Linked DNA regions of Homo sapiens: region 1 is linked to region 2. Evidence: promoter capture Hi-C in 16 types of primary human blood cells and fetal thymus (Javierre and others, 2016). All regions are on one chromosome and are shown on one strand. Each heading gives the region's core, a stretch centred on a gene start or on the middle of the fragment in contact. The rest is flanking DNA. Distances are from core to core; before and after follow the strand shown.

What was found. The method cuts DNA at HindIII sites, captures the fragments that hold promoters and counts their contacts. A CHiCAGO score of 5 or more calls a contact.
Region 1: a fragment that was not itself captured here is called in contact with the fragment with the promoter of DEFA4 in region 2 in 1 of 17 cell types (fetal thymus); the score reaches 5.4 in fetal thymus.

Annotation. Positions count from the first base shown.
Region 1 is chr8:6,422,362-6,427,248 of GRCh38, forward strand. All of the region lies in intron 3 of MCPH1 (microcephalin 1), which reads left to right. Among named protein-coding and RNA genes, the nearest start is that of MCPH1, 18 kb to the left of the region's middle. The HindIII fragment of the contact is 2,940 bases long and covers 52-2,991 here.
Region 2 is chr8:6,937,056-6,941,742 of GRCh38, forward strand. It overlaps DEFA4 (defensin alpha 4), which reads right to left and starts at 1,251. Exons shown (of 3, transcript NM_001925.3): 1 at 1,171-1,251. RefSeq lists a silencer at 987-1,056. The HindIII fragment of the contact is 1,500 bases long and covers 607-2,106 here.

The sequences.
Region 1 (4,887 bases), core at 272-2,771, 510 kb before region 2:
GTCGTATAGAAATGTGGAGGGGAGAGTGCAGAAACAGAGACCTTTACTAGAAGCTTGAAGTAAATGGAGATGCATGGACAAAATTAAAATAGTAGCCATTTCTGTACCTAATAGGGCCTCTCAGCTAACCCTACAATGGGGATGGTCACTGGTAGTGTGTTCTGCTGAGAGTTAGGGATTCTTACTCTGCTTTGCTGGCCCAGCCCCTGACTCATTCTCTATCCCCTTTCTCTCTCTCTCTATTTCTGCCCACCACTAACCCCAGCCTTTCTCAAGGGGCTCATGCAGACCCCATAATACTTGTAACTTCGTTATCCAAAAGCAAAGTTTTCTTTTTCTTTTCTGGAGACTGAGTCTCACTCTCTTGCCCAAGCTGGAGTGCAGTGGTGCGATCTCGGCTTACTGCAACCTCCGCCTCCTGGGTTCATGCCATTCTCCTGCCTCAGCCTCCCGAGTAGCTGGGACTACCGGAGCCCGCCACCACGCCCGGCTAATTTTTTGTGGTTTTAGTAGAGACGGGGTTTCACTGTGTTAGCCAGGATGGTCTCGATCTCCTGACCTTGTGATCCGCCCTCCTCGGTCTCCCAAAGTGCTAGGATTACAGGCGTGAGCCACTGTGCCCGGCCAATTTTTATATTTTTAGGAGAGACAGGGTTTCACCATGTTGGCCAGGCTGGTTTAACTCCTGACCTCAGGTGATCCGCCCACCTTGGCCTCCCAAAGTGCTAGGATTACAGGTAAGAGCCACCGTGCCTGGCAAAAGCACACTTTTAAGGTCCTCAGAAGCTCAAAAGTGAACTTAATCTTTTGGCATTTTTCTTTTCTTTTCTTTTTTTTTTTTTTTTTGAAACTGAGTCTCGCTCTGTCGCCCAGGCTGGAGTGCAGTGGTGCAATCTTGGCTCACTGCATTCTCCTGCCTCAGCCTCCTGAGTAGCTGGGACTACAGGCGCCCGCCACCACGCCTGGCTAATTTTTTTGTATTTTTAGTAGAGACGGGGTTTCACCGTGTTAGCCAGGATGGTCTCCATCTCCTGATCTTGTGATCCGCCCGCCTCGGCCTCCCAAAGTGCTGGGATTACTGGCATGAGCCCCTGCGCCCGGCCCATACACTTTAGTCAACTTTTTATTACAGGTCATTTTTTTGCCTGTACATGCAGATGCATCCCACTTTATATATATAAGAATATTTTGTAGTAGCTGTCCAGTAATTTATGTAAGCAGTGTCCTATTGGTGATTGAAGTTTTTCATTTCTTAGTTATTTTTTTCAATTAGAAATATTACAGCATTGAGCTTCTGTATGTATTACCTTTTTGCGGGTGATAAATCTTTCCATAGGTTTAAATCCCCAAAGTGGGCTGTTCATTTCTGAGAGTTTACATATTTAAATATGATAGATGCTGCCAAATTATCTTCTGGAAGGAGTGTACTGGTTTCCATTCTCACTGGAATTATCAAAAAAATGCATGTTTCCCAATACCTTTGCTAATGTTGTGAGTTATCAGTTCTTCTTTCTAATTTGTAGAAGAAAAATAATAGTTTTTATTTGCATTTCTCTGACTTTTAGTGAGCTTGAATTTTCTTCAGCAGAGCATAGAGATAAGAGCCAAACTGACCTGCATTTTTTATGTCACGTCTGTCCTTTCTTGGTGAACTGCCTGCCTTTCCAATGCAGTAGCTCATGGTTTCCACTGAAAATGTGAACATTAACTTCATAAGGTCACTAGGTGTCACTAGAATCCCATTCTGTTGGGTTCCTTCTGGGAGTGTTCATTTTAAGATCAGATGGCAATTGATAAAATTCTGACATTTCCTTTGGATGTAGAAATTTTTACCTTGAAGAAAGAATACATAAAGTTGAAATAAAGGTCAGCTTGGCCCCCACTCTAAGTTCTGTTGAAGACAATTTATCATTTTTAAACAACTGCAAACTAACAGCTAGGTGGGGAATACGGTTCACAGGCTTTGTCCTTGCTAGGCTGAGAGTTGGTTGCTGACCGAAGGCCATCACCCCCTGCATTTAGTGTTTGCTGGAAACAGGGACATATTCCTGCATAACCACAACACAGGCCGACATTAGGGGCTTACCACGGCTCCTTTCCTCCCGGAATCCTCAGACTCCATTCCTATCCTACCAGCAGCCAGCTCCACTTCCCGCCTCCTCAGCCTTCTCACCCTGCAGCCATTCCTTAGTCTTTCACTGGCTTTTGTGACTTTGACACTGTTTAAGGTCACTGACCAGTGATAGGAACGTCCCTCAGTTTGGAACGGTCTGATGTGTCCTCCTAATATCACATCAATGTGTAACAGTGGATGTGTAGCCATTTAGGACTGGGCAAATTACTCAACTGCTGGGCTCTAGGTTCCTCCAGTAGCTCCTGAGTTAACTTCCTACGGTTATTTAGTGCTAGACCACAGAAGTTCGCTCTCTGCTGGCAGAGCACTGTTGTGCAGACTTCTCTGAGTCTCCTGTGTTCTTCCTTGTGTGTCAGGGACACACGTGAAGGATAGCGTGCTTCGCGGCTGGAATCTTCAAGGAGATGCCATTCACTTTTTTACCTCACTAACACAGTGCCGTTTACAAAAAAGATTAATGTACTTTTCCTGAATTGACTTACTGACTGGGCCTAGAGAATAAGATACTGGTGCTGGGCAGTTTGGCACAAGAGTAGCATAAAGAATGCAGGATTGGCCCAGGTGAAGGCATCGTCCTAAGGGTAGAATGAGAGTCGGTGGTTCCTGGCCGACCTAGCAGGTGTACTGTGGGAAGTGCTGGAGTGAATCGGCTCTCTGGGGAGAATAAGCTCATCACAGCACGGCTTCCCGAGGAGAACGTTGCTGCTTTGATTTCTGTTGGCTCTGAGGCAGCAGCAGGTCAAATAGTTGGTTCTCTGTTTAGAGACATCTCTTGAAACACTTTTCGTTTTGACCACTAGATGGTGGGATAATGTTATCATTTTACATTTCTGAAGAAAAATAGAAATCTAACTGGAAGCTTTTTTGTCTGTTCAGTAGATTTTGGTTGGACCCCTGGTAAACATGGGTTTCAGTGTAGCAGCTTTAATGTGTTACCACGTGTGCTAAAGCATAGCTGTTGGCATGCAGAACGGCATTACCAGCAGTAAGTGCCACTTACTTCTTCATAGTGAGTGATGATAGTTACACCCAGGTAGATGAAATTCAGGGAGAGCATCTCTGTGCACCTTACATCTTATCACTCTGAAGGATATGTGGTTGGGAAGCTTCTCCCAAAGGAACAGAACACATCTTCCACAACTGTATAACCTATGTCAGGCACACGTTTTCCTGGGTTGAATCAAGCCCTTCCTTAAACTGCTAACTTAAAGAATACTTACTGGTTTTGTAAAGTTTGGCAAATGATCTTCTCTGCTCCTCGGTTTTCTGTGTTGTGCAATAGGAGGCAATGGTAGTGGCTTTTCCAGCACGGTTGGTGTGAGGCTTCTCATGAGCTGGGTGACCTTTGTCCTGATGATGGTGGTGATTTTAATACTGTGTATTTGATAACACGATTATCTAGGGTCTCCTCTACGTCTTTCGTCCAGATGCATCTCAGCCACCCCCCTTTTGCTGTTCCCTTAGGCATAATAGTGGTAAATCGGTGACATTTTGCTTGAGTAAGAAGAAGCTGCTAAAAACTTCTCATGCTTAAAATTGGTAATTAAGGGGACTTTTTAAAAAGAAGCACAGTTAAAAAACATTTCCTTCCTCGTTCTCTTCCACCCGCCTCCCTTTCCCATCACTTTTATTAGATACAGCATTCTGCTCACCCCATTATTGCAGGCTCAGATAGTTGGTTTGTTTTTTTAAAATCAGCTTTATAAAAACATTTACATAAAATAAAATGGACCCATTTTAAGTGTACATTCACGGGTTTTTTGTGTATACCTGTGTCACCACCACAACCAAAATACAGAGCATTTTCATCACCCCAAAATCTCCTTCGTGTCCATTTGCTGTCGGCCTCCCTGCCCCCTCCTCCCACCCCAGGGCAGCCACAGATCTGGTTTCTGTCATTAAAGATTAGTGTCACCAATTCTGGGGCTTCAGATCAGTGGAATCATCCAGCGTGTACTATTTTGTGCCTGACATCACTGAAGGTGATGTTTTTGCGATCTGTCCGTGTTGTTTGTAGCAGTGGTTTCACTTCCTTTTATAGCTGAGTAGTATTCTATTGTAGGCATGTAGCTTGGTGCCACCAGTTGATGGAGATTGGGCTAGTTTGCCATTTTAGGTTATTATGAATAAAGTTACAATGGACATTTACATTTGTGTCTTTGTATGCTTTCATTTCTCTTGGGTCATTACCCAAACTTTTCCAAGGTGGTTATGGCACTGTATATTCCCACCAGCAGTGTTCCTTTCACTCCACGTCTTCACCAATAGTTGAAATTTATCCATCTTTTGAATTTTAGCCATTCAAGCAGATGTGTAGTGGTATTTCATGGTTTTTTTTTTCCCAACATTGTTTTAAGATCTAATTCATATGCTACACAATTTGTCCAATTAAAGTATACAATTCAGTGGTTTTAAATATACAGTCAGGTATTGCTTGACGACAGGGATGCCTTCTGAGAAACGAATAGGTGATTTTGTTGTTGTGGAGACATCACAGTGTGTATTAACACACACCTGCATGACATAGCTACTGCACACCTAGGCTCTGTGGCACAACCTGTTGCTCCTAGGCATAAACCTCTACAGCATGTGCAGTTGTGAAACAGTGGTAAGTATTTGTGTCTCTGAAATACTTAAACATAGAAAAGGTAGAGTAAAAATATGGTATAAAAGATAAAATATGGTACACCTACATAGGGCGTTTACTATGAATTGAGCTCGCTAGACTGGAAGTTGCTGTGGTTGAGTCGTTG
Region 2 (4,687 bases), core at 1-2,500:
CTCCTATTGGCCTTGACATCCCTGGAATGCTCCTCTGCTCTCCCAGCTTTCTTCACAGGAAGCTCTATGTTTAGTGTCTGTGCTAGGTTGAAGTTGATGGTGATGATGAGGACCCTGGCATTTTTTCCTGTTTTCAGGAAATACCTAATATTTCCTGGTTAAATCTTTAATATTCTAAAAAGAATGGAAACAGTGCTTTCATTCAATAATTTAAGAGAGCAAATGCCTCTTATTTCCTGATAATGGGCCCTACTATTCTCTTCAGGTCTAAACACTGGTGCCAGACCTGTATTCCGGTGGAGTAGAGAGTAACTCATTGCAGGCTTCTAGGTCATTATACCCTCATGAAGGGGCGACTGAGGTAATGGGGTGAGTAGTCTCCTGTAGGGGCCAGAGTGAAGAGGACAATGACCTTATCAGGGTACAGGTGAAATGAGCTCAGTGAGAGAGATAAAGAGTTGTGTAAGGTTCATGAGTTGCTAGGTGCATACACGTGGTCCTTTCTCTCACAGCATGTAAAAAATCAGCTCAACATGGATTGAAGACTCAACATAGACTTGAAAAGACCTGAAACCATACAACTACGAGAAGCACATACAAAGATAAAGCTTTGGACATTGACGTGAGTAATGATTTCTTGGCTATGACACCAAAGGCACAGGCAATAAACAAATGGGAAAATAGACAAGCGGGGCTGCATTGAACGCTAAAGCATCTTCATAGCAAAGGAAACAATCAACTGAGGGAAACGGCAACCCAGAAAATGAGAGAAAATGTTTGCAAAGCCTACGTGGTAGAAGGGGTAAATATCTGAATACATAAGGAAGTCAAACAACTCAATAGCAAAAAACAAACAACCTGATTGAAAAACAGACCTAGGACCTGCAGAGGCTTCTCTCACAATAAAATAATGTTTTAAGAAGCTGTGATCGTCTTTATTGGACATGTCAAGTAGGACACGTGTGTTTGGAAGGAAACTTTTTGAGTTTCTCTATTGACTTAGCTAGTAGCCATTACCCCCAGCAGCCGCCAGACACCCAGATAGAAGTTCACAGCAGGGGCTTCACCCGCTGGGTCCCTCTGGGGTGGCCCCACAGTGAGAGGTCAGACTGGGGACACAGCTTCAATATTGAAACCTCAATGTGAAAGTTTAAGTTTTGTGTTACTTACAGATCCTCAAGCTAGGCAGGGCGAGCAGAGAGGGCAGACAGCAGTCCTGTGTTCCAGGTCTTATGTAGCAAGAGCAGCCATGCACACAGAGGAGAGGACTTCCTTATTTAAGGGTCTTTTGGTATCAGGTGTCCTAATTTTTCAGGGTTACTTTCTATTGGGTACTTTAAATAACTGTTAACAAGGGCAGTTGAGAAATTTGGCAGAAAGCTGGAGTTCAAGCAGGAGTCCACGGAGGTACCGACCCCTCGTCTACTTTGGTCAGCCCTGGCCAGGCCCAGGCAGCAATCAACTATGGATTCCTCATGACTCCTAAGACAATTGACCCCATGATACCTATGCTGGTGGCTGAGGCTGAACTACCTGGACCGAGGGAATATTTAAAGCCACCAGGAGAGCCTGGCCTGCATATTGTTGTATACACCTTGCGAGGAGACTAGGATCAAAATGCCACCCACACACAGATGAGGATTTGGAATGTGGTCTGAACTGACCTCCCCAGGCCCTGGGGTCTAACCATAAAAACAAATCCAAGCCATTCAGACAAGTAAGGTTGGAGAATACCTGGATGAGACTGAATACCGCCTGGGCTTGTGTTGCTGGATAGGGCAGGTTGCAGGCTCCCGAGTAAAGGATGTGCATATAGCATGTGGTTCCCTAGAGGGGACAGTCACCTTTTTGCTTGGCCTTAGATAGTTCAAGCCTAAATGACTGTCTAGGTCATCCAGGCCAAGGACTCATCAAATGATTGCGTGACACCTAATGTCTGTCAGAAGTCCCTTAGGATGGTGGCCAAAGCTGCAGCGAGATTGGTGTTAGCTTGCATCACCTTGTGTTGTGAGCTCAAATACCCTGTTCCCAAACCAATCCCGTAGGCTTACGAGTCTCCCTACACCCAGAGTTAGGAAGATGGTCACTGGGTGGGGGGGATGCATAAGCTTTCCCTTGTGTGGTCCCTCCTGGGTTATTTGAAGGGGAGTCCCAGGGAGACTAGTGCACATTTTAAAATGTACCACTCTCCACCATCCTCCTCCTTGTAGTGAGGTAAACGGGATGAGGTTTCTGGAAATGAGAAAAGAATGCAGTTGTTCCTGAGGGAATGAATACCTATAGTGAGGTTGCTGAACCCAGTATGCAGTCCAGGCAGCCCCTGCCGCCATGGGAGGGCCGTGCACAGCGCTGGTCCAGCAGGCTGGGTGCTCAGGGCCTCCCCTGCAGCTCTGCGTGAAGGCAGCAGGCACTGGGCTATGGAGGACTGGGGGCAGCGGCGCTCTCAGTCTTAAGGAGGGAAGAGGCATCTCAAGCCTCGCTAGGGGTGGTCGCTGTTCCAGAGCAGTGAAGTCGGCTGCCCCTATGAGGAAGCAGTGAGTTCCTGATCTGTTGCAGGCCCAGCAATTTCACCTTTGGAGGAAGTGGGCACTGGACTCATTCCAGCAGAGGAAGAAATTAGGGCTATTTGGGGAACTGGGCCCCAGATGATGGTTTTAGGTTCTAGGGCATTAGTAGGTGCCTGAAGGGCCCAGTGGATATGGATGTAGAGGCAAAATGAGAAGGGGTGTGTGTGCACGTGGGGAAGGTCTGGTGGTTGTGGGGATGTCCAGTGTCCTGCAGAAGTGAAACCTGGACCAGCCTCCTGCACACAGAACACACTCCAATCCATAGGCATTTTCCTAGTAACATAGGAGAGAGCTGTTATTGGCAGAGCTGGTTAGATTTGGGTGTGATATTATAACAGACAGGTCTTCCAAGTCCATATTTTTTGGCATAACTTGTAGGGCAGCCTCCTGATCTGATCCAAGCCTTGTGGTTTCCTTGCAGTAGGCGGTTTAACTAATGGGTTACACTGAAGACAAATGGGGATCCCAGCAAAATACCATTCTAAGGGGTCATCTGCAGGGTCCTCAGGAAAGCATGAGCTAAGAAAGCACGGGTCCAGGTACTGGACGTGAGCCAACTCCATGTCCCGGGGGTGGTGAGATCCATACCTTGCGGCAGGAAGGAGAGTAAGGTGAGTCTGGTTTGGGGATGACCCCACAGTCAAGATGAGATTCCTTGGTGTCTCTGGTTCTGGTGAGGCCACTGTTTCCCAGGACAAACCCTTGGATCAGAGCACTGTCTTCTGAGGTGATGGCCTTTCGGGTAGGGGTGGCCTTTCCAGCTGGTCACTCAAGAAGAGAGAGGGTATGGGCTGGTGTTGCACAGGCCTCTGGCCTCTGTGGGACTCCATGGAAGCGTTTAGTGAAAGCTTGAGTGGTGCTTTCCTTGGTCGGGGGATAGGACATTTCCATCCACAACTCACATACTTTGGAGCACAGAAGTATCCCTAAGCCCATGAACGTGTTTGAATGCTTTCTCTGCATGTGAGGCTCCAACCTTTCCGGCCACAGACTGAGTTTGTGCTGAGGCATCATTAGCTGGTTTGTATTCATGCCTGGTCATGGGGAGGGCCACCTGCCTCTGATTGTGGGGGTTGCTGGTGTTTAAGCTTTAGTGCCATGGGTCCCATTCAATATCTAAGGATCGGGTTTCCTGGCTTGGATCCAGGTCAGGTGGCATTTGGGGTTTTGCCCCTCTAGCACATTGCCTCAACATGCCACAGTTTTCCAGCCTGGGGTTCAATTTCTCACAGTGGCTGTCCTGTTCCAGCAGCTCTCTGGGATGCCAGGCCCCAGGCCTAAGAGCAGCCGTACAACATTTACATACATAAGATACCCAGCAAGGCCAAAGATAGAGAGCACTGACAGCTTATAACTCAGGGATTTCCTCAAGGTACTTTTACGTCGATATTGATTATGGGGTGGGCTTTCACCAACATTTCTTCAGAGCATTTTTCTGCAATCGACACAGGACATGGTGATGGTAGTTCCATGTGGTCTTTGTCTGATGTAGTTGGCGTCCTCTAGTTTGATGGCTTTTTCTCCTCATTTAGTGACCCAGACTGTACCCTCTTTGGGCTGCAGAGAAACAATCCCCACTTCCTTCAGGGAGGAGTGAGTGGGAGATATTAGCTACCTTTCAAAGCAGGAAGAACTGGAGCTTCTGCTGGAGGCTGTATGTCAAGAGGTGAGGTCTGGTGTAGCAGAAGCATCTTAGGGCTGCTCTGTGGCAGCTGCCTGGACCATCAGTCCCCAGAGGATCACAGCTCACTATCTGTATTAGTCCATTTTCATGCTGCTCATAAAGACCTACCCGAGACTGGGTGATTTATGCAGGAAAGAGATTTCATGGACTCACAGTTCCACATGGCTGGGGAGGCCTCACAATCATGGTAGAAGACAAAAGGAGCAAGTCAAGTCTTACGTGGGTGGCAGCAGGCAAAGAGAGAGCTTCTGCAGGGAAACTCCCTATATAAAACCATCAGATCTTGTGAAACTTATTCACTACCATGAGAACAGCATGGGAAAGACCTGCCTCCATGATTCAATTACCTCCCACCAGGTCCCTCCAACACATAGGAATTCAAGATGACATTTGGGTGGGAACACAGCCAAACCCTATCACTGTCCATCCTCGATCG